6 separate regions of the Homo sapiens genome follow, and regions 1, 2, 3, 5 and 6 are each linked to region 4. Evidence: promoter capture Hi-C in 16 types of primary human blood cells and fetal thymus (Javierre and others, 2016). All regions are on one chromosome and are shown on one strand. Each heading gives the region's core, a stretch centred on a gene start or on the middle of the fragment in contact. The rest is flanking DNA. Distances are from core to core; before and after follow the strand shown. Region 1 overlaps UBA6 (ubiquitin like modifier activating enzyme 6). Region 2 overlaps LOC102724780 (a long non-coding RNA gene). Region 3 has its middle 25 kb from the start of UBA6-DT. Region 4 holds the start of CENPC (centromere protein C). Region 5 overlaps GNRHR (gonadotropin releasing hormone receptor). Region 6 has its middle 17 kb from the start of GNRHR.

What was found. The method cuts DNA at HindIII sites, captures the fragments that hold promoters and counts their contacts. A CHiCAGO score of 5 or more calls a contact.
Region 1: a fragment that was not itself captured here is called in contact with the fragment with the promoter of CENPC in region 4 in 13 of 17 cell types (activated CD4 T cells, total B cells, naive B cells and 10 more); the score reaches 14.4 in activated CD4 T cells.
Region 2: a fragment that was not itself captured here is called in contact with the fragment with the promoter of CENPC in region 4 in 1 of 17 cell types (naive CD4 T cells); the score reaches 5.0 in naive CD4 T cells.
Region 3: a contact is called between a fragment that was not itself captured here and the fragment with the promoter of CENPC in region 4, in 15 of 17 cell types (activated CD4 T cells, fetal thymus, total B cells and 12 more). The highest score is 12.1, in activated CD4 T cells.
Region 5: a fragment that was not itself captured here is called in contact with the fragment with the promoter of CENPC in region 4 in 9 of 17 cell types (fetal thymus, total B cells, naive B cells and 6 more); the score reaches 12.7 in fetal thymus.
Region 6: a fragment that was not itself captured here is called in contact with the fragment with the promoter of CENPC in region 4 in 3 of 17 cell types (fetal thymus, activated CD4 T cells and non-activated CD4 T cells); the score reaches 7.6 in fetal thymus.

What each region holds. Positions count from the first base shown.
Region 1 is chr4:67,677,514-67,680,730 of GRCh38, reverse strand. It overlaps UBA6 (ubiquitin like modifier activating enzyme 6), which reads left to right. Exons shown (of 33, transcript NM_018227.6): 5 at 2,198-2,292; 6 at 3,009-3,120. Among named protein-coding and RNA genes, the nearest start is that of UBA6, 22 kb to the left of the region's middle. The HindIII fragment of the contact is 3,415 bases long and covers 166-3,217 here.
Region 2 is chr4:67,790,290-67,793,509 of GRCh38, reverse strand. It overlaps LOC102724780 (a long non-coding RNA gene), which reads right to left. Exons shown (of 2, transcript XR_001741713.3): 1 at 2,999-3,220. Among named protein-coding and RNA genes, the nearest start is that of GNRHR, 38 kb to the right of the region's middle. The HindIII fragment of the contact is 3,422 bases long and covers 106-3,220 here.
Region 3 is chr4:67,724,659-67,727,699 of GRCh38, reverse strand. It overlaps the pseudogene LOC100419046. Among named protein-coding and RNA genes, the nearest start is that of UBA6-DT, 25 kb to the right of the region's middle. The HindIII fragment of the contact is 2,182 bases long and covers 572-2,753 here.
Region 4 is chr4:67,543,850-67,546,783 of GRCh38, reverse strand. CENPC (centromere protein C) reads left to right here and starts at 1,281. Exons shown (of 19, transcript NM_001812.4): 1 at 1,281-1,446; 2 at 2,589-2,635. The coding sequence starts at 1,429. RefSeq lists a silencer at 997-1,136 and enhancers at 959-1,509, 1,287-1,526. The HindIII fragment of the contact is 5,245 bases long and covers 1-2,392 here.
Region 5 is chr4:67,747,375-67,750,702 of GRCh38, reverse strand. All of the region lies in intron 1 of GNRHR (gonadotropin releasing hormone receptor), which reads left to right. LOC124900175 (small nucleolar RNA SNORA62/SNORA6 family) reads right to left here; the gene lies at 3,317-3,328. Among named protein-coding and RNA genes, the nearest start is that of GNRHR, 5.3 kb to the left of the region's middle. The HindIII fragment of the contact is 453 bases long and covers 1,732-2,184 here.
Region 6 is chr4:67,769,422-67,772,853 of GRCh38, reverse strand. It overlaps the pseudogene TMPRSS11CP. Among named protein-coding and RNA genes, the nearest start is that of GNRHR, 17 kb to the right of the region's middle. The HindIII fragment of the contact is 1,045 bases long and covers 977-2,021 here.

The DNA.
Region 1 (3,217 bases), core at 624-3,123, 130 kb before region 4:
AGAAGTGGGTCCAGGCCACACTCAAGGTGGGAGATCACACGAAAGCCTAAATACTATGAAGCAGGAAACATTGTGGCCATCTTAAAAGCCTGTCTACCACAGTCATCAAATGTCTAGTTAGAGTTCAAATTTTCCCAAATGTCTTAAGACATTTTATTGAAAGCTTGTATCATTCTAATCAGGATCCAAGTAAAATTCGTATACTGAACTTGGTTTATTTTAATCTATAGATTTCCCTTCCTTGCCTAGGTTTTTTCTTGCAATTTATTTGTTGAAGAAACTAGTCATTTGTCACAGGTATTTCTACATGTGTATTTCCTGTAAACTGGTAGTTATAGCCAGAGAATCCAGTTCAGATTTGATTCTTTTTGGCAAGACTGTTTCATAGCTGTTCTCCCATCAGGAGACAGTAATATTCTGTTGTCTCTCTTTTTGTGATTATTATTAGCTGTTAATTATTATTGCCTAGATTCATTATTTCATTAGGGGCAGTGATGATGTTTTATCATTCTTTTCTCATTTATTAGCTGGAATTATATTTTAGAAAAAAATTCCAGTCATGACTTTCTTGGTTTCACGAAAGTATGGATTGTACATTTACAAAATGCAGGATAAATACTACATTTTTCCCCATTAACTTACCAGTTTTCAAAATCAGTGGTTTCCTGTCATCATTTCGTAGTATTGACCAGTGAATTTATATGTATGTGTACATTATGATAAACTCATGGATTTAAACATAATTTGATGTGTTTTGATCTATTATAGTTATTTTCATTGATGCTCAGATTGTTCCATCTTTGGTTATTGTGGTTCTCTTCCTGTTTTTTGAGGCTTTGAGACACAGCCCCCAGTAGTCTTTGTCGCTGTTTACAAAGTCTTTTCAGTGGGCAGAGCTAGAACGTTCGTAATGAGTAAATACTGAAATTTCTGATTTTCAGGTTTAGGCTTATAAAGTATTACTAAAATTTCTAATTTTTACTTTGGATTATAGGATATTTATTTCTGTGATTTTATATTTGTATCTTATTAGGATTTTGGTTTCTAATGATCCATTACGTGCTTTATCCTATATATGCTATATATTCTTTATCCTATTATATTTTACTTGTATGGCATAGTTTCAGAATACCAATTCCAATATTGTTAATAATAATGTATTATTGAAAAAAATTTAGAGTTTTTTGATCCTACCTGGATTTGGCAGGCAAATTAACTGCTTTTAAAAGTCACTTTAAATAAATCTCTGTGTGTAGCAGACTCCATAAACAGTTTAGTCCATGTATTTGTTTTGCTTTGGATTTTTAGAGATTGCTTTTTAAAAAATTTAGTTTTACTATTATGTGAGATTTATGATTCAAAGTCAGATTTTTTAAACAAAGTATTTTCAGGTAAGTCTAGCTTCTTGTTACCTTGTTTCCTCCTTCACTTATTAGGTTACTGTCTTTTTATATTTGGTTTATTCTTCATTTGTTTTTGTAGATAGGTAAATGCATACACACATACATGTGTATCTGTTTATGTGTGGGTATATATGTTTATCTCCTCCCACCTTTCTCATATAAAGTGCTCTACTTTTCTTTACCTTGCTATCTCTTTATAGCATATCCTGGAGATTACTCCATATTTATAAATACATCTTTCATTCTTTTTTTAATAGTTGCATGATTATACATTGTACGGATGTATCATCTTAAAGCCAGTTCCCCATTGGTGGGCATTTTGATTATTTCCAGTCTTTTGCTCTTACAAATAGTGTGCTATATTTAATACTCTTGTATATATAGCTTTTTGTATTTCTCCCAGTGTGTCTTTGAGATGGAGTCCTAAAAGTGGGATTGCTGCATCACAGGATAAATGCATATGTCTTTTTGCTAGAGATTGCCAAATTCCTTTCCGTTGAGGTTGAGCCAGTTTACCTTGTTAATCAGTAATAATGAGAGTCGCTCATTCACCTCACCATCACCAATAGACTATGTTGTCAAACTGTGGATTTATGCCAATCTAACAAGTGAGAAAAGTTATTTCATTTCTGGGCAAGGTTGAACATCTTTACATATTTTAATTCTTATGCCTTTGTTTACTTTTCATTGTCTAATTACACAAAATAATAGTTCTAGTACATTGTCAGTAATACTGGAGAGAGTGCATATCCTTGAACTCCTGACTTCAACCAATACTTTTTTCTTTTTTGAAGGCAGTTACAATTCATGATACAGAAAAATGCCAAGCATGGGATCTAGGAACCAACTTCTTTCTCAGTGAAGATGATGTTGTTAATAAGAGAAACAGGTAAAGATATTTTGATGTATTATCATGAGTTTTTTTAAATTTATTTACTTAAAATATTTCCTTTATCTAGAACACCAATCAGTCATAGTTGTTTAAATATAAAGTGCTCTACTTTATACAGGTAAAGATATTTTTATGTATTATGAGTTTTTTTTTAACTCATTTACTTAGAATATTTCCTTTATCTAGAACACCAATCAGTCATAGTTATTTAATTGATCACCATAAATTCCTACTACTGTGGCTAAATAAATATTGATATATACTTAATTATTTGTATTTGTCAAATTTTTTATATATTTACATAATATGTATTATATAATATATATTACATATAATATATCTTTTATATATATTATATATATAAAAGATATATATATATTACACTGCTACCTAGAAATGTATTTCCTTGAATTTATTAAAGAAGGACTTTAGTGTTGCTAAATTATTAAGAAAGTTAAGGAGCCTGGAGCTTGGAACTATTAGGGTACACTTTGAGATTGTGTGGTTTATTGTAGAATATGATAGTATATCATTTCAAGATTGTATGGTTACCTGTAAAGACAAGTAAGTTTTGGTTTCTTTCTTCTACAAGGTAAGTTTCCATTGAAATTTTGTAACATGTCAGGTTCCTCTGATGTCATTACAGTGTCCAACTTGAAGAGATTTGAGTATATTGAATTAAAGAACAGTAAAAATTTATTTTATTTTTTTAGGGCTGAAGCTGTACTTAAACATATTGCAGAACTAAATCCATACGTTCATGTCACATCATCTTCTGTTCCTTTCAATGAGACCACAGATCTCTCCTTTTTAGATAAATACCAGGTTAGTACTCCATTTTGTATTAAATGTTATTGACAGGTTCCAGGGCAAAATTGTTAAATATTAATATGTTTAACTAATTTAACCTAGTGTATTGAGA
Region 2 (3,220 bases), core at 567-3,066, 250 kb before region 4:
TCTCTCAGCAAAAAGCTTACTTACACTTAAGCTTAAACAAAGAGTTAGTATATATGAGATGAAAGGCACAATTAGTATGATCGTTTCACAAATGTATTTTAAGCTTGTTCAGTATAAGCTGTGTGGTGTGGATGGGACCTAATGCTGTGGTTAGTTGATAAAATCAACAGTGACTGAAAGCTGCTCAATGAGAAGAGTTGAAAACTCTTGTCAACAAGATGCCCGGAGCCCCATATTTTTCAGTCCACTGGCCTGTACATCCTTTGTCACCATTTTGGCCAACAGTCCCAGCCAGGGCCAAGATCCTTTGTGACATCTCTTATAGAAGGTGTTCTTTTTTTCAGAGCACTTCCTCTCAAGGTTTATTTTTTCATATTTATTGATAGATTTTAATTGACAGGGAAAAATTATACATATTTATCATGTAAAATATGATGCTTTGAAATACATACACATTGTAGAATGGCTATATCAATCTAGTTAACATATGTATTACCCTCAGATATTTATCATTTTCATGGTCAAAATTCTAAAATCTACTCGTTTAGCAATTTTCAAGAATACAAGACATTGTTATTAATTACAGTTACCATGTTATACAATACGGCTTTTGAATTTATTCCATCTGACTGAAATCTTGTATCCTTTGGCCAATAAATCCCCAACCCAATTTCTATTCCGTAGTAACCACCATTCTACTCTCTACTTCTGTGAGTTCAATTTTTTTAGTTTTGGCATGTGAGATCATGCATTATTTGTCTTTCTGTGCCTGGTTTATTTCACTTATAATTTCCTCCAGGTTCAACCATGTTGTTTCAAATGACAGGACTTCCTTCTTTCTTATGACAGAATAGTATTCCTCTATGGATACATAGCACACTTTTTTTAATCATTCATCCATTGATGGACATTTTGGTTGTTTCCATATCTTGGCTATTACGAAAAATGATGCAATGAACATGGGAGTGCAGATATCTCTTCAGCATACTGATTGTATTTCCTTTGAATACATACCAGCAGTGGAATTGCTGGATCATATGGTAGTTTTGTTTTTAGTGTTTTGAGAAACATCCATGTTGTTTTTCTTTTTTTTTTTTTTTGAGACGGAGTCTCGCTCTGTCGCCCAGGCCGGACTGCGGACTGCAGTGGCGCAATCTCGGCTCACTGCAAGCTCCGCTTCCCGGGTTCACGCCATTCTCCTGCCTCAGCCTCCCCAGTAGCTGGGACTACAGGCGCCCGCCACCGCGCCCGGCTAATTTTTTGTATTTTTAGTAGAGACGGGGTTTCACCTTGTTAGCCAGGATGGTCTCGATCTCCTGACCTCATGATCCACCCGCCTCGGCCTCCCAAAGTGCTGGGATTACAGGCGTGAGCCACCGCGCCCGGCCCATGTTGTTTTTCTTAATGGCTACACTAATTTACATTCCCATCAACAGTGTGCAAGAGTTCACTTTTCTTCACACCCTCTCCAACACTTGTTATCTTTTGGCTTTTCCTTTGCCCCATTTTTAATTGGGTTATTTGTTCTCTTGTTATTGTTTGAGTTCCGTATATTTTGGATATTAATCCCTTATCAGACATGTGTCTTGCAAATATATTCTCCCATTCCATAGGTTGTCTCTTCATTTTGTTGATTTTTTCCTTTACTCTGCAGGAGCTTTTTAGTTTCATGTAATCCCATTTGTTTATTTTCCTTTCTGTTGTCTGTGCTGTTTCATATCCAAAAATTATTGCCAAGGCCAATGTCTTAGAGCTTTTCTTCTACATTTTCTTCTAGTAGTTTTACAGTTTCAGGTCTTATGTTGAAGTCTTTTATCAATTTTGAGTTGATTTCTGTATAAGATATGAATCTCCAGATTACAGTAGATATGAATCTCTAGGTTACTGTCTTTCCCACCTTTAGATTATAGTTTGATGGGAAATACAGTCAGTAGTCAAATAATCACTTTAGTAAATGCATAGTTCAAACCTCTTGCAGAGGCCATGTTCATTTTTGCCCAGCATTATATTGTCAGAGCCTAGCACAGGGCCAGACACATGGCAGTAAATATTTATTGGATGAATTAATATTTCATAATATAAAAGCTGCAACTAACAACCAGGATAGCAAGAGAGAACATATGTACCCCTTCTCAACTCATGTTACACAAAAGAATTAAGCCCTAAAAACACGACATGGGTGAGTGTGTTTTCAGTTCTTCCAAAGATGATACATAGTTAATACCATTCCAGTTGCATAAGAGAGAGGTTTATTCGTCTCATATAACTGTTGCCATAGACAGTAGAGTTTAATTTTCTTCCAGAATCTCAATTTAGGAGGGATGATGACAAGTATGGCAGAGGTGTGCTACTAGTAGACATTGCTACCCCCAGATTTAGGATGTAAAAAGTACTTCAATTATTAAGATCCATAAATATAATGTATAATTTTATTTTCCAATTACTCCTGAATCTCATGAAAAGTAGCAATGCTACTACTTTCTGAGAAATTAATAAAATCAGTATTTCTGGAGTGTATTATTTAGTGAGAGATCAAAGTTTTCTCTATCAATTCTAAACTTTCTAAATCAGAAGACTTTAAAATTGCCTATTTAGCATAAAACCTAGAAAAACCATTGATAGCATAGTTTTCCTCTGCCTATGAAAGAATTATTTCCTGAAAAATCTCTCCTAGGGTAAATTCCTTGACCTAATTCTATTGATTTCAATGGGAAAAGATTTTAAGCATCCCCAAGCCCTCAAATTTATATTCATTTATGCTTGAACAATATCACATTCCTGTAACAAAGAGATGATTACATAGTTAAAATTAGTTAAAACAATTTTTCTTTTATTAAGTAATTTATGACTTCTTATACGATCTCATTAGGCTATTCTATAGTTTAACAATCAAAACAGAATATACATATGATATTTAATGTTTGTATAATTCAAACTTCAATGCAAAAAAAAAGAAAGAAAAGAACAAGTAGAGAAATGCAAGTGATATCTCACTTACCAAACAGTTGACTTCACGGCGTGATACACTTGACTATCACTGCCATAAGCTATCAACCCAAGAGCTAAAGGAAAGAGCACAACACTAGATTAGCTGAACCAACTATAAAACTGCAAAAATGACCACATAGTAGATCTCTCCTGAAAGCTCTGGAAGGAAAAATTCAAATCAGTCTTTGAAAAAGCAAAGAAATGCCTTATACGTTAAAGTGAGGGTTTTTAA
Region 3 (3,041 bases), core at 413-2,912, 180 kb before region 4:
GTCTAAGCCAATCCACTTTTGAGTGGATTGAGATTATGATTATTTTAGACCAATTGTTACAGGACCACCAGGTTCATATGCCTGCTATGCAATAACAGACCAATACACTGAGACAGCAGAGTTAGCAGCAGAGAGTTTAATGATTACAGGGCAGCTGAGCAAGGACATGGGAAAAACCCTCAAATCCATCTCCATGAGAGTTCTGGGCTGACGTTTTTAAGGGGTTGTGGACAGCCAGGGGCTGGAAAATTGAGGTTGCTGATGGGTCAGGAGAAGAGAGATGAAATCATCAGGATGTGGAAACTGCATTCTTTGCTGAGTCAGCACCTCATGGGGTCCTTCAGACCTGCTGGCATCAGTAGTTTCACATCAGTAGTTTCACCGGTATGCGGGACTTGAAAGAATATCTCAAATGGATAAAAGCTTCACAATGCTTAAGATGTTATCTAGGGGAACTATAATCTTGTGACAGGGTCTACGTGATTCTGGGGCAATAGGCAGGAAACAACCATGAGGAAGCAGGTCAGACAGCAAGCTGACCTAATGATTAATGCTGAATGTGCTACAAGCTTGGTTCGTTTTTGTTTCTCTCCTTCCCTTCTTCCCTGGCTAATTTTATGCAGTTGATAGGGACAGTTTCACAGTCATAACTCAGTGTGCAGAGCTAGGGAAAAACAGCCTGCCATGAAGCTCATGGCAGCACTATATCTGAACAAAAGTGGGGTCCCGTTAGCAAGAAGAAAGGAGATCTATTAAGAAACAAGGTGTATGGTGTCTGTCACACTTTCAGCAACTAAATAGAGTTTGCAATTAGGTGTCATCAATGTCCATCATTTCTGTCCAGTGGAAGTAATAAAAGTAATGGGACCATCTGGCATTTAAAGCATTCATCAGATCTATCCACAAAACTTTATGGTGTAAAATCTATTTATTACCTATTTCCTTCATCTTCAATTTCCCAAGACATAGAAATAACGACAGAATCTCACCAGCAGAGGGCTAAGAATTCATGCAGGTAATTTTTAAATTATTATTATTATTATTATTATTATTATCTTTATTTGATAATAAAGAACATGTAGGAAAACTTTTCTGAGTAGTGTTTACCTCTTGGCATACTAAAACTGTCATTTCACTGCTTCATAAAAATAGATACTTTGATTCTCAGTTAGTCGGAGATGATAACCTGGACTTAATATTTGCTCTCACATCTTTACTTCCTATCCCTGCCACTATGCATTAAAGCATCCCTAATTACATCAGTGAGGGTATTATCCAGATTGTAAATAATGTAAATAACTGGTAGGAGCTCTAATGCCTGGAATACAAAATTTAGCCCAAATCCAATGCCAAACAATAAGAGCATTCTGAGAGAAGATGACTCCTTTAATACCTTCTTCAACGGGACTATTGTGGTCAAGCATGGCTCCACAAAATTGTTTGTGGACCTAGAGCCAATACGTGGTGATGAAGTTTGCCTTAGGAAGCGATCACTAGCAAAGAAGATGCATCAAATAGCTTTGCCTCTAGTCACTACACCGTTGAAAAGGAAAGCATTGACTAAGTGTTGGATTGGATTCAGAAGCTAGCTGACTTAAGTACAGGTCTTCAGGCTTTCTTGAATTTTTGCTGGTTGGTGGTAACTACAGTTTTTATTTGCCTTTCTGTTGATAGAATCTCTATCAGTTGATTATAGGAGCAAAATTCTCCATTTACCCAGCTCCTTAGCTTTCCTTAGCTGAAGCTGAGGTCTTCAATTCCATCAACTCTTTAGCACTTTGATTGTGTCTTCATATTAGATAATGAGGCCATCTATAATATTTATGTAGAAACCTTAATATTGAGCACCCAATACACAATAACCTTAAGCACATTTTCAACCAGTGTGTATTCTCCATCATTGTTTCTCTCAGATTTCATGGTGCCTTGAATGTCAATATATCAAAATTTTATACTTATTCTCTATCTTTATGTCTACTTCCCTCCGTGTATATATCCAGCTATCTCTGCTGGGAAAACCTACCACAAACATTTTCTGTAGCAGAGATAACTAATGCTTGCTCTGAGCTAGCCAACCAGATGATATGTGACACTTGAAATGATAAATGTATGGCTCACTACCTATTGTATAGTATTATGGTAATAATACATTATTACTATATCAGTGTAATATGGTTTCCACAAATATGAAGGCTGCATTGCCACCATCAAGACAAATTTGCAGATCTGTGCCTCTCTGGCTTCAAGGTTGGAATCAATTATCAGTGTCCCACTGCAGTTCTAGTAGAGACTGCCAAAGTAAATGCAGTTGTGTGCTCATGGAGCAATACTGCAGTCATAGCTGAAGCCTGGACTTGCCTAGACCGCAAGTTGGTCATGCCAAGAGTGCCTTTGTTCACTGTGTATAAGGGTGAAGAGATGAAAGAAGGGGAGTATTCAGAAGCATGGATGGCCTAGGGAAAGATTATAAGGCAATGTGGATTTCAGAGGATCAGGGAAAGAAGGAGAGAAATATAAGTTGTCTATTCCCTTTAACTTGCCACATCTTAGCACAGTTTATCTTTAACTTAAGTCATCAGTGTCTGATTAGATTGTCTTTACTTTCAAATGTGATTGCTCCTGCATAACTCTTGTGTACCTACAAATTTTTTTCTATTTTCATCCATGAAAGTAAAGGCTTTAACAAACAGAATGACATATAGATGTGTGTATGCATGAGTGTGTATGGAGAGAGATGACAGAAAGAATAAGCTTAAGGCTCAGTGTGGTGGCTCACACCTGTAATCCCAGCACTTGGGGAGGCCCAGACAGGTGGATCACTTGATCAGGAGTTCAAGCCAGCCTAGCGAACATGGTGAAACCCCCCTATACTAAAAGTACAAAAATTATCTGAGATCCATGGAGGGCACCTGTAATCCCAGCTACTCAGGAAGCTGAGGCAGGAGAATCAATTGAATCTTGGAGGCAGAGGTTGCAGCGAGCCAAGATCTCACCACTGCACTCCAGCCTGGGCAACAGAGTGAGATTCCGTCTAAAAAAAA
Region 4 (2,934 bases), core at 32-2,531:
CATTATCTATTCCAAATGTGACAGCACCAAATTATAAGTTGGACTGATTGGCAAAACTGCCAAACATAGTAAAAAACTCTCCATAATGATTCCAATAGCTTTATTATTGAATTCTTACTATGTTCCAAACATTGTGCTTAGATCTTAACAGGAATTATTCAATTACAACATCTCAACCACTTTAATAGTATTCTCATTTTGCAGACAAGAGAATTAAGGAACAGATAACTTAGTTGCCCATAATGGCAGAATTAATGGAATGGAGTGCAATCCAGGCCTAATTTCAGTCAGAGATCATAGTTCCTTTTTTTCTATCAAAAAAATAAATAAAATAAAAAAATTGGCCTTCATAGTTGACAGCATTTGTTAAAGCACTACATGTTTTAAAAATCTATTAGCTCAACTCCTGATTAATGTATTTATTCAATTAGTAAACTATTTTCTGATTAGAATTTTCTTGTAATTTTAAATTAAATAATAAAATAAGATACAGCTTCATAGAATCATACACTGGTCAGGTGAGAAGTCTTCAGAGCGTCTAATTTAGACTTCCATTCTATCACTATGGAAACACCCAGAATGGTGCCGCAATTTTGCCCTCCATAACATAGCTAGTCAATGGCTGGCAGGTTTCAGGATTCTGTATAGAATTCTTTTCAGTGCATCATACTTAAATGATAGATATTTACGTGGGTCATTTGTTGGCAATGCATCATAAAAATATCGCCCACATACTTGAAAAAGAATACAAGCCATCATCACCATTATTATACATAATTATTCAATTATTTTCAGAGATGATGGTTAGATGGGCTGGGCGTGGCTGACGAATCTGCATTAGAAAAATCTCTTCAAAAAAAGATTCTATTAAAAAAAAAGTCGTCTGCAATTTCTACCTCTCATCCTTCCAAGTATTACTTATTATTCCTTAATAGAACTGTTGAGAAGTTTTACATTGGGCACAAGGAGCGGTTCCCAGGATCGTGCCTTCCTAATAAAAGCCCAGTCTCGCGCCTGTCCCGGGCGCGGCGCTGAGGAAGGGAGGTGGGAAGAGCAGAGCGGCTAGAGGTAGGGCGGGCGGGTGGGTCTGCAGGCTGGAGGGCCGTTGGCCTGGAGCATGAAGGGGCGAGCCCACTAACGGCTTGCTTCCTATTGGACGGCGCGGCCCGTTTTGCGCATGTGTCTCCGGGTTCAAACCCAGGCACAGGCCAAGCGTTCTTGTTTGTTGAGGGCGGAGCCAATGGCGGGGGAGTGTTGTTAGCGCGCGCCTTCCGGATCGCAGCTCTCGCGGCAGTCGCCTGAGACTTAAGGTTATTGCTTGGCCGCGGCCTGGTATTCCGGCGATTCGTTTCTTGCTCGGCTTCCTGGAGCTGTGGTCCGTGTGGGCTTCCACCTCAGACAGTTGCGCTGGCTCAGCGGGGCCGGAACATGGCTGCGTCCGGTCTGGTAAGTGCAGGCCCCCCGCTCCAGGCGAGTGGTTGAGCGGCTGGCTGGGGCACGGGCGCCCGAGGCTGGGGAGAAGGAAATGCTAGGCTGAGGCTGTGATCTCTGAGGGATTTCAGTGGGAAAGCCGCAGGAATTTTTGAAATCAAGTGTGATCGTGTGTCGATAACCAGAGTTAATTTACTGTACTTTTATTATTTCTTAAGTTTTCATGTCGTCATTTCGTCTGTGCCTACGTCTTACTCTTGAGAGGTGCTTGTGATTTCTGCTGGGTTTTTTTTTGTTTTTGTTTTTGAGACGGGGTCTTGCTCTGTCCCCCAGGCTGGAGTGCAGTGGCGCGATCTTGGCTTCTGCTTTTTAGTCTAGCTCCAGTTCCTAGGCCTCCAAATAACTTTTCTCCCCATGGTAGAAGTATTGAAACGCCTTAAAAGTGTGTCTTTGCGTCACACTTGGTAGTTGGGAGAAACAGATTATGTAACAAGTACGTCTCGAAATAATTTGACGTTTTCAGTTCTTCTGTCAAAATGGTGGCCTTTTATGCAGTTCTTGAGGCTGATTTATGGAGCATATGTTATTGACAAACTCTTCTGAAAGACAGCTATCAGTTAAAAGGTACAAGCTGTGAATGACTAATGGGGGCGACAACTCATTTTGTTTACATATTTCTGGACTTCTTTGGTGTTCACTATTCTATATTTCATACTTTGGTTATGGTTACTATATAAAAATCCGTATCATTTCTTTTCTAATTTATCTCCCCTTCTAAGAAAATCTTCAGCTTCGATGATCTCCCATTATGTGACGTTATACATATAAACATAAAGAGTTGTATGAAAGAATAATATAATCTATACTTTTTACTATGAGCACATATATTGTTTACATTATATATAATCAGAAGAAAGCAATAAAGCCATTCTCACTGTGGGGAGAGAAGCGGAATAAAGCTTACCAGATGCCTGCAGTTCAGTTTTTAAATGCCTGTCATAACCTATGTTATGTCATAACATAACCTCAAAATTGTTTTGAGCCCTTAGGAGATGTTTGGTGTATAGCATGCCCATACTGGATGAAGTTACTTTGAAAATAAATTTTACTCGACTCTATCTTAAAGAAACCAAATTGATGATTTACTTTTCTTTCAGGATCATCTCAAAAATGGCTACAGAAGAAGATTTTGTCGACCTTCCAGGTGATTTACGTACTTAAGCTTTTAAGATTATTTTTATTCTCATCGTTAATAGATTTTTAAATGAAGAAAGGAAAAACTATCACCTCTGACTAATATAATGATTTCTGTGCCCACTGATTAAGGGTAGTCATCTTATACTAACGGGAATGTTAATGCAAGCAGTGCAATGACTTTGTGGCTGTGAAAAAAGAAATTCACCTGATAAAATAGTGGAACCAGGAAGAGGGAGTCTCAGTTCTGACTAAGTGACTGCCATGGGAAAAGCATTTTGTAGAATGAATCAAATGGTAAAATTAGAA
Region 5 (3,328 bases), core at 709-3,208, 200 kb before region 4:
TAACAAACATGTTTTCACCACTCAGGGCTGGGGATCTGGGAATTTATGACATTTTGCCTCAGCTCAGAATGACCAAATTTCAAATTGGCCTCCTAGATTTTCCACTTTCCTCATTATTAACCTCAGAAGCTATGTTCTGTGATAATTCGGCAGTGCATTCTCAGAAGTTTTAGCATAGTGTGGCATAGAAACTTTCAAACTTTATGCTAGTAATAGAATTCTTTTTAAAAAATTCTATATCACAATGTACCCCATAAATATGTACAATTATTATGTGTCTGTTAAAAATTTTTAAATAAAATACAGTACAAAAAATCCTGTACAAAAAGCCATAATGAATGAAACAGATATAAGTGGAGCTGCTCTGGTTAAAATAGAGGGAAAGGAGGACCAGTCCTCCACTTGGTTATTCACTAGCTCTCAGTCACAGTTACTAAAGACTTCCTATCTCCTTGCAGCAAAGTTCAAAAGCCAATGGGATAGTAAAAGTGGCATGAGTGTGAGATTCAAATGGAGTTGGGCTCAAATCTCAGTAATACTGCCTACCAGCTATGTGACTCTGAGCAAATTACTTACATTTAAAAGAGTAATTGTAAAGAATAAGTCATACAATTTATAAAATCATCTAAGACTTTACACCTTAATTTTAAATACTAATTTAATATTTATTTTTCTTCTTTTCCTTTCTTCCTAAGACCATCCTTTCTTCTTACCTTCATAAAAGAGGTTTTGAAGTCAGGAAAGAAAAAGTACAGAAATATGAGTATGGAATTGTTGGTTCTTTAAGAAACAGCAAAAAGAAATGCTTATATAAAAGTGGATTATTTCAAATTTTTCAAAATTATAGCATGCATTCTGACTGATTAGTAAACTACTCCCTGGTCACAAAGCTATCATACTCACTCTGCTAATTATACATGTCAGAGCACAGTAATTCAAGTCTTGGAGGTATCGTATATAAAAGTGGGGAAAGACGGAAGGAAGGAAGGAAGGAAAGAAGGAAGGAACGAAGGAAAGGAGGCAGGGAGGGAGGGAAAGGAGGGAAGGGGAGGAAAAAGGAGGAAAGGTAGAAAAGAAAAACGAAGGAGGGAAGGAGGAAAAGAAAAAGCAGCAAACACCCTGGGATAGCTTTGGTTTAAGACCATCTGTGGTTAGGGTGGTAAATATAAATTGAAGAGAAGACATTTCCTAAATTAGATGTGCCCGTATCTAATTTAAAATCACATGGTTTCTAATAAGAGTCATTTAATACCACAAGAATTCCAGAGTAGCAGGTTATTTGCAGAAAGAGTTCATAGCTTATCTGTGTTAAGCTTATCACTAGTTTATCTGTACTAATACAGAGTATTACATATTGACAGCTTTTAAATTCTATGGTTAACCCAGGCCTGCCGGCAAGAAATGTGGGCCACTCCTTAGTCCTTAGTGTAAAGATATGTTGTCTGAAGATGTGTGGAGGCTTGCCTTAACACACAGAGAATTTACTGGTGTAGAATGCACTACTGACATTGGCCAACGGTTTAAATTCAATAAATATTATCACACAGGTACAATATGCCTAACATTGTGCTACAACATAGTACTGTGCTACTAGCAGAAATAACAATAGCAATAATGTTGATGATGATAAATAATGCTTGAAGACATAAATATGTGCCAGGAATTTGGCTAAAAGCTTTTACATGCTAGGTTCACAGAACAGGCAGTGAATAAATATTAAATAAATAAGCTTTTACATGCAATATTTCATATAATGCTTCCAACAATCACATAAATTATGCACAATCATTATCTTTATTTTACACATGAAGAAACTAAACCTCCAATATTATATAACATGCCCAAAATTACTGTTTACTAAGTGGAAATCTCAGTATATCAGTATATTTAGTTATCTATATATGGCCATATCCATAGCCAGCTCTTTTTTTTTTAACAGTCAGAGGCTTCCCATTTATTTATTTATTTATTTATTTTATTATTATTATTATACTTTAAGTTTTAGGGTACACGTGCACAACGTGCAGGTTTGTTACATATGTATACATGTGCCATGCGAGTTAATGGGTGCAGCCAGCTCTTTTAACTACTACACTCTACCCAACTCTGCCCAGTGAACACTGCAATATTGTCTATTTCCTTTTTACCTGTAGGAGGCTGGGGAAGAAAAAGGCAGAAAAAGCTTGAAGTGAAAACTGATGCTTAAAACACATCAAGAAAAAAATATATATGATACACATTTATAAACATATAAACGCATATGGATACATATAAAAATTGTGTGCCTCAAGTTTTAATTATAATAATGGTAAAGATTTATAAAGTGCTGTGTTCCAGGCACTATTCCAGGTGCTTTGCATGTATTAACTCATTTATTGTCATGATAGGCCTTAGAGGTAGATATTACTATTTTCTCCATGTATGTAGATGAGGAAACTGAAGCACACATCTGAAGATAATTACCTGTGGACAACACTAGGTAAGGGTGTAATTAGTGTGGGTAAGGTGAGTGTTAAAGATAATATTCTAAGAAGAAATGAACAACTGCAATTGACTGTGAAAAACAAAAACAGAATGTTCTTGTTTATGGCAAAATAAAGCAAACACTGATAAGAACCAGGGCCAGGGGCAAGAGAGGAGAAATATACCAAAATTAAAGAAATATAATCCAAGGACAAATGAACAACTAAAAGCAAAGTGGATCTCTACATAAATCATTCAAATGAACATGGCCTTGGAGCACAAAATAAACGGAACTAAGACAATAGCAAGTTAATTTATGGGCAAGTAAGATTCTGAATTTGTGTACACTTTATTATACCTTTCTTAAAATTTATTGGTCTATCTTGTATTACCTGGGTCACATACATTTTAAATCTGCACTACCAAATATTAAATTCCCTGATTGAAGGATATAACTGCTTTATCTTTTATGACAGAGAATGCCAGCTATAGTTTATTTTACCAAAGAGTTGCTTAAAAAATAAGCATGTGTTAAATAAGATAGCCATTAACTCAATCATAGTACTATGTTTCAAAGTCATTGCTAATTGAAAGTTTCATCATTATGGCTTTTTTAAACATATTTTATTTTTTTAATTATAAATTTTTTCCAGTTACAAATGAACCAATTTGAACCACGCACTACCCATCTTTTTAGAATCTTATAGTAGAACTCACCAAGTTGGTGTGAAAACAGAAAGGCCAAGTAATGCCTGAGAGGCCTGAGTAAGAAATACAGACAAACGTAGAAAAAAAACACACTGCTTTTCAAATGTTTTCATCTCTCCTCAAAACTGGCATGCAATAACATTAGACTTGTCACAAG
Region 6 (3,432 bases), core at 250-2,749, 230 kb before region 4:
GTTCACTTTCCCATACCCTTGCCCACTTTTTGTTTAATCTTATTATCCTATATTGTCATCATTTATTTTTCTAAATCCCCTTCAGTCTTTTCTATACAGAATAAGAAATAAAATGTAGTTTTCATGGGTTATCTTCTAAACATAACATTGCATTATTCAAAATCTGCTCATGTTATCATTATTTTTATTTTTCTCTTATACACAACTTTATTTTTGTATGCTTACAAGTATCATGGGAACTCAAAACATACGTAATTGTTTTTAAAATTGTAAGACATTAATTCCTACAAGTACAATACACAGGACTTTTAATTAATAAATCTATTTTTTAGGGTCCATGATCCCAAAGAATGGAATGTTATTTTAAGTAACCCACAAACACAGTGAAATATCAAGAATGTTATAATTCAAGAAAACTACCATTACCCTGCACACGATAATGACATTGCTGTTGTGCATCTATCTTCACCAGTGTTATATACAAGCAACATCCAAAAAGCATGTCTTCCAGATGTTAATTATATATTCCTATACAATTCAGAAGCAGTGGTTACTGCATGGGGATCATTTAAAGTCTGATGGTGAGTTCCTCACCTGACTCCGTTATATGGCTTGAATTTCAGGAGTTAAAAAGTAAAATACTCAGAATTACACCTAAACTGAAAAATACTTTCTCTGGATCATTTTTAAGAGTACAATGTGGAATGGATTGAAAATTATCCTCAACAACATTCATGCAGAAACTATAACTTCATAGAGCTGCTTACTATAATTCCTCTTAAGATGGCAGTTTTTCAAGAAATATATTATTTGAATAAGTAATTCATTTCCTTCATTCATTTATTCATTTACTAATGGAAAATAATTACCACCTTTGTTCAGGGATTGTTCTAGGTGGTTTGGATACGTTAATGAATGAAATGGGCAGATAATTCCTGCCTATTTTCTTAGTTAAAAAAAAAAAAAGGAAAAAGCTTTCATCCTTAACAAAGGAAAATGGACAATTTCATGAAATGAAGGATGTAAGTATATTAAAAGAAATAAGTAAGTTATAGCAAATTTTATGCAGTTAAGTGCCATAGAAAAAAATAGGGACTGTAGGGGATTCAGCATTTTTAATGAGGTGACAAGGTGATACTTGAGCAAAGATTTAAATATATGCATCCCCATGACCCTAATAATGTGAACACTTAGTGGCTATTAATGTCTGTAAATGCAGTTTGAAAGCAGAAAAATAAACCTAAAATTAATTTCAAGATTCAGAATTACAGTAAAAATTTAGCTTAAAAATTTTTAAATAATCATAAAATGTATGCTCCTGCAATATGAGTTTTTCATTTTGTTTTCTTTTGTTTTTGTTTGTTTGGTTGGTTGGTTTTTTTTTTTGTTTTTGTTTTGTTTTTGTTTTTTTCGAGACAGAGTCTCACTCTGTTGCCCAGGCTGGAGTGCAATGGCATGATCTCGGCTCCCTGCAACCTCCGCCTCTCAGGTTCAAGTGATTCTCCTGCCTCAGCCTACCAAGTAGCTGGAACTGCAGGCATGAACCACAACACTTGGCTAATTTTTGTGTTTTTAATAGAGACAGGGTTTCACCATGTTGGTCAGGCTGATCTCGAACTCCTGATCTCAGGTGATCCGCCCACCTCGGCCTCCCAAAGTGCTGGGATTACAGGCGTGAGCCACAGCACCTGATTCATTTTGTTTTCTAAGACATCTTTTCTGTACAGAATAAGAAATAAGATGTAGTTTCCATGAGTTATCTTCTAAAACATAGCTTATTGAGTTATTCAAAATATGCTCATGTTATTTTTTTACTTATATACAACATATTAATACATTAATAAACATATTATTACATATTAATACATGTAATACATATAAAATTTCAAAACAATTCAAAAGAAAAAATCTTATTACATATAGATGTACACACTAAATATTTCTAAAAATGGTCATTTTTCAGCAACAGCTTGGTATGTTTATAAACATTACTTGCTTTTTTGTTACTACAGCTAAAAGCTTAATTATACTTTACACTGATTTGATTTAGAAATTGTACATAGTGTTAAAGTTAGATACTAATAGCCTAGCCAGAAAGATTAATAGTGACATCAATAAAAATTATACAATTTTCTTCCTTTACGAACAACTTCTAATGTACTCCACAAGGGATTAGTGAAGATTATAGATAATAGGACCTGCAACAATGGGGAGGCAGATGGCAGAGTCATCACATCTGGAATGTTGTGTGCCGGGTTCCTGGAGCCACGTGTGGATGCCTGCCAGGTAAGTCTGTTTATTCTAATTTCAAGAACTTTATTCTTGTAGTTTTAAATTTCCAAATAATCAGTTCAGTTTTCTCAAGGGATTGACAATTTTTAAAGGCTTAAGTATGTTTCCTAGCCAAAGTATCTAATTAGAATTACAATGATATCAAATAGGTCTCATTAAAGTCCTAAAGTGCTAAATTACCTTGCTGTATAAAGCTGTGAGCAGGAGTGGGAAAGAAACTCAATTTAGAATAAGCAATGAAGAGATGAGATGGTTTACTGGTGACTTTAGTATGATTGTCATTTCACTGAGAAACATTCAGCTGTGTCTAATAGCAAAATTAACAATCATGGAGCTTTCACAATGTGATTCCAACATCCTAAATATTTTATTGATTTAACAACTCTTATATAGTATTCCCATGTGCCAAGCACTGTTTTCAGCACTTTACAAATATTAATTTATTATAGTTACCTCAGTCCTCTGCAGTATATTTGTGCTATTGTAAGCCCTATTTCTAGATGAGGAAATTGAGACAAAAAGATCAAGTAATTTGTCTAAACTCACAGAGCTATTAAGCGGCAAAAGAACTGAGATTTAAACGCAGGAAATTGGGCTCTAGGGCCTATGCTCTGAACTCTACACTAAGATGTTTTTCCTTATGCTTAATGTGCTTTTAACAATTGTTGCTGTTTATGAACAATAGTCCCAGAGCTAACAAAAGTTTCTAAGCAGGTAGAATCAGTGATAAATCCAAGAAAACCTTTATTTTATTCATGCAATCTTTCATGTAGTGATTATTTATTGACTACTACCTATGTGCCAGATACGGTGCTATGTTCAGGGAAGTTAAAATGAACACAGCATATTCCTGTACTCTAGGAGCTAGCAGACATGCAAACAAGTATTTGCAATACATAATCATCATCTCTAATTACAAATTTCTAGCTTTGCAACTGTCCCACTAAACCCATTCTTCAGTATCATGAAGAGCTTAAAACTCTGTTCCTCTTAATTTCTTCTCAGTCCATCAACCCCCCACCCTCATGACTCTCTCCTAACCTTAAACAGCCTAGGACCCTTGTTTTATTATTTCAGCCACTCTATTGACAGCACTCTCGGTGACTTCATCCTTGACTTACCCGACACCCATTCAAATAA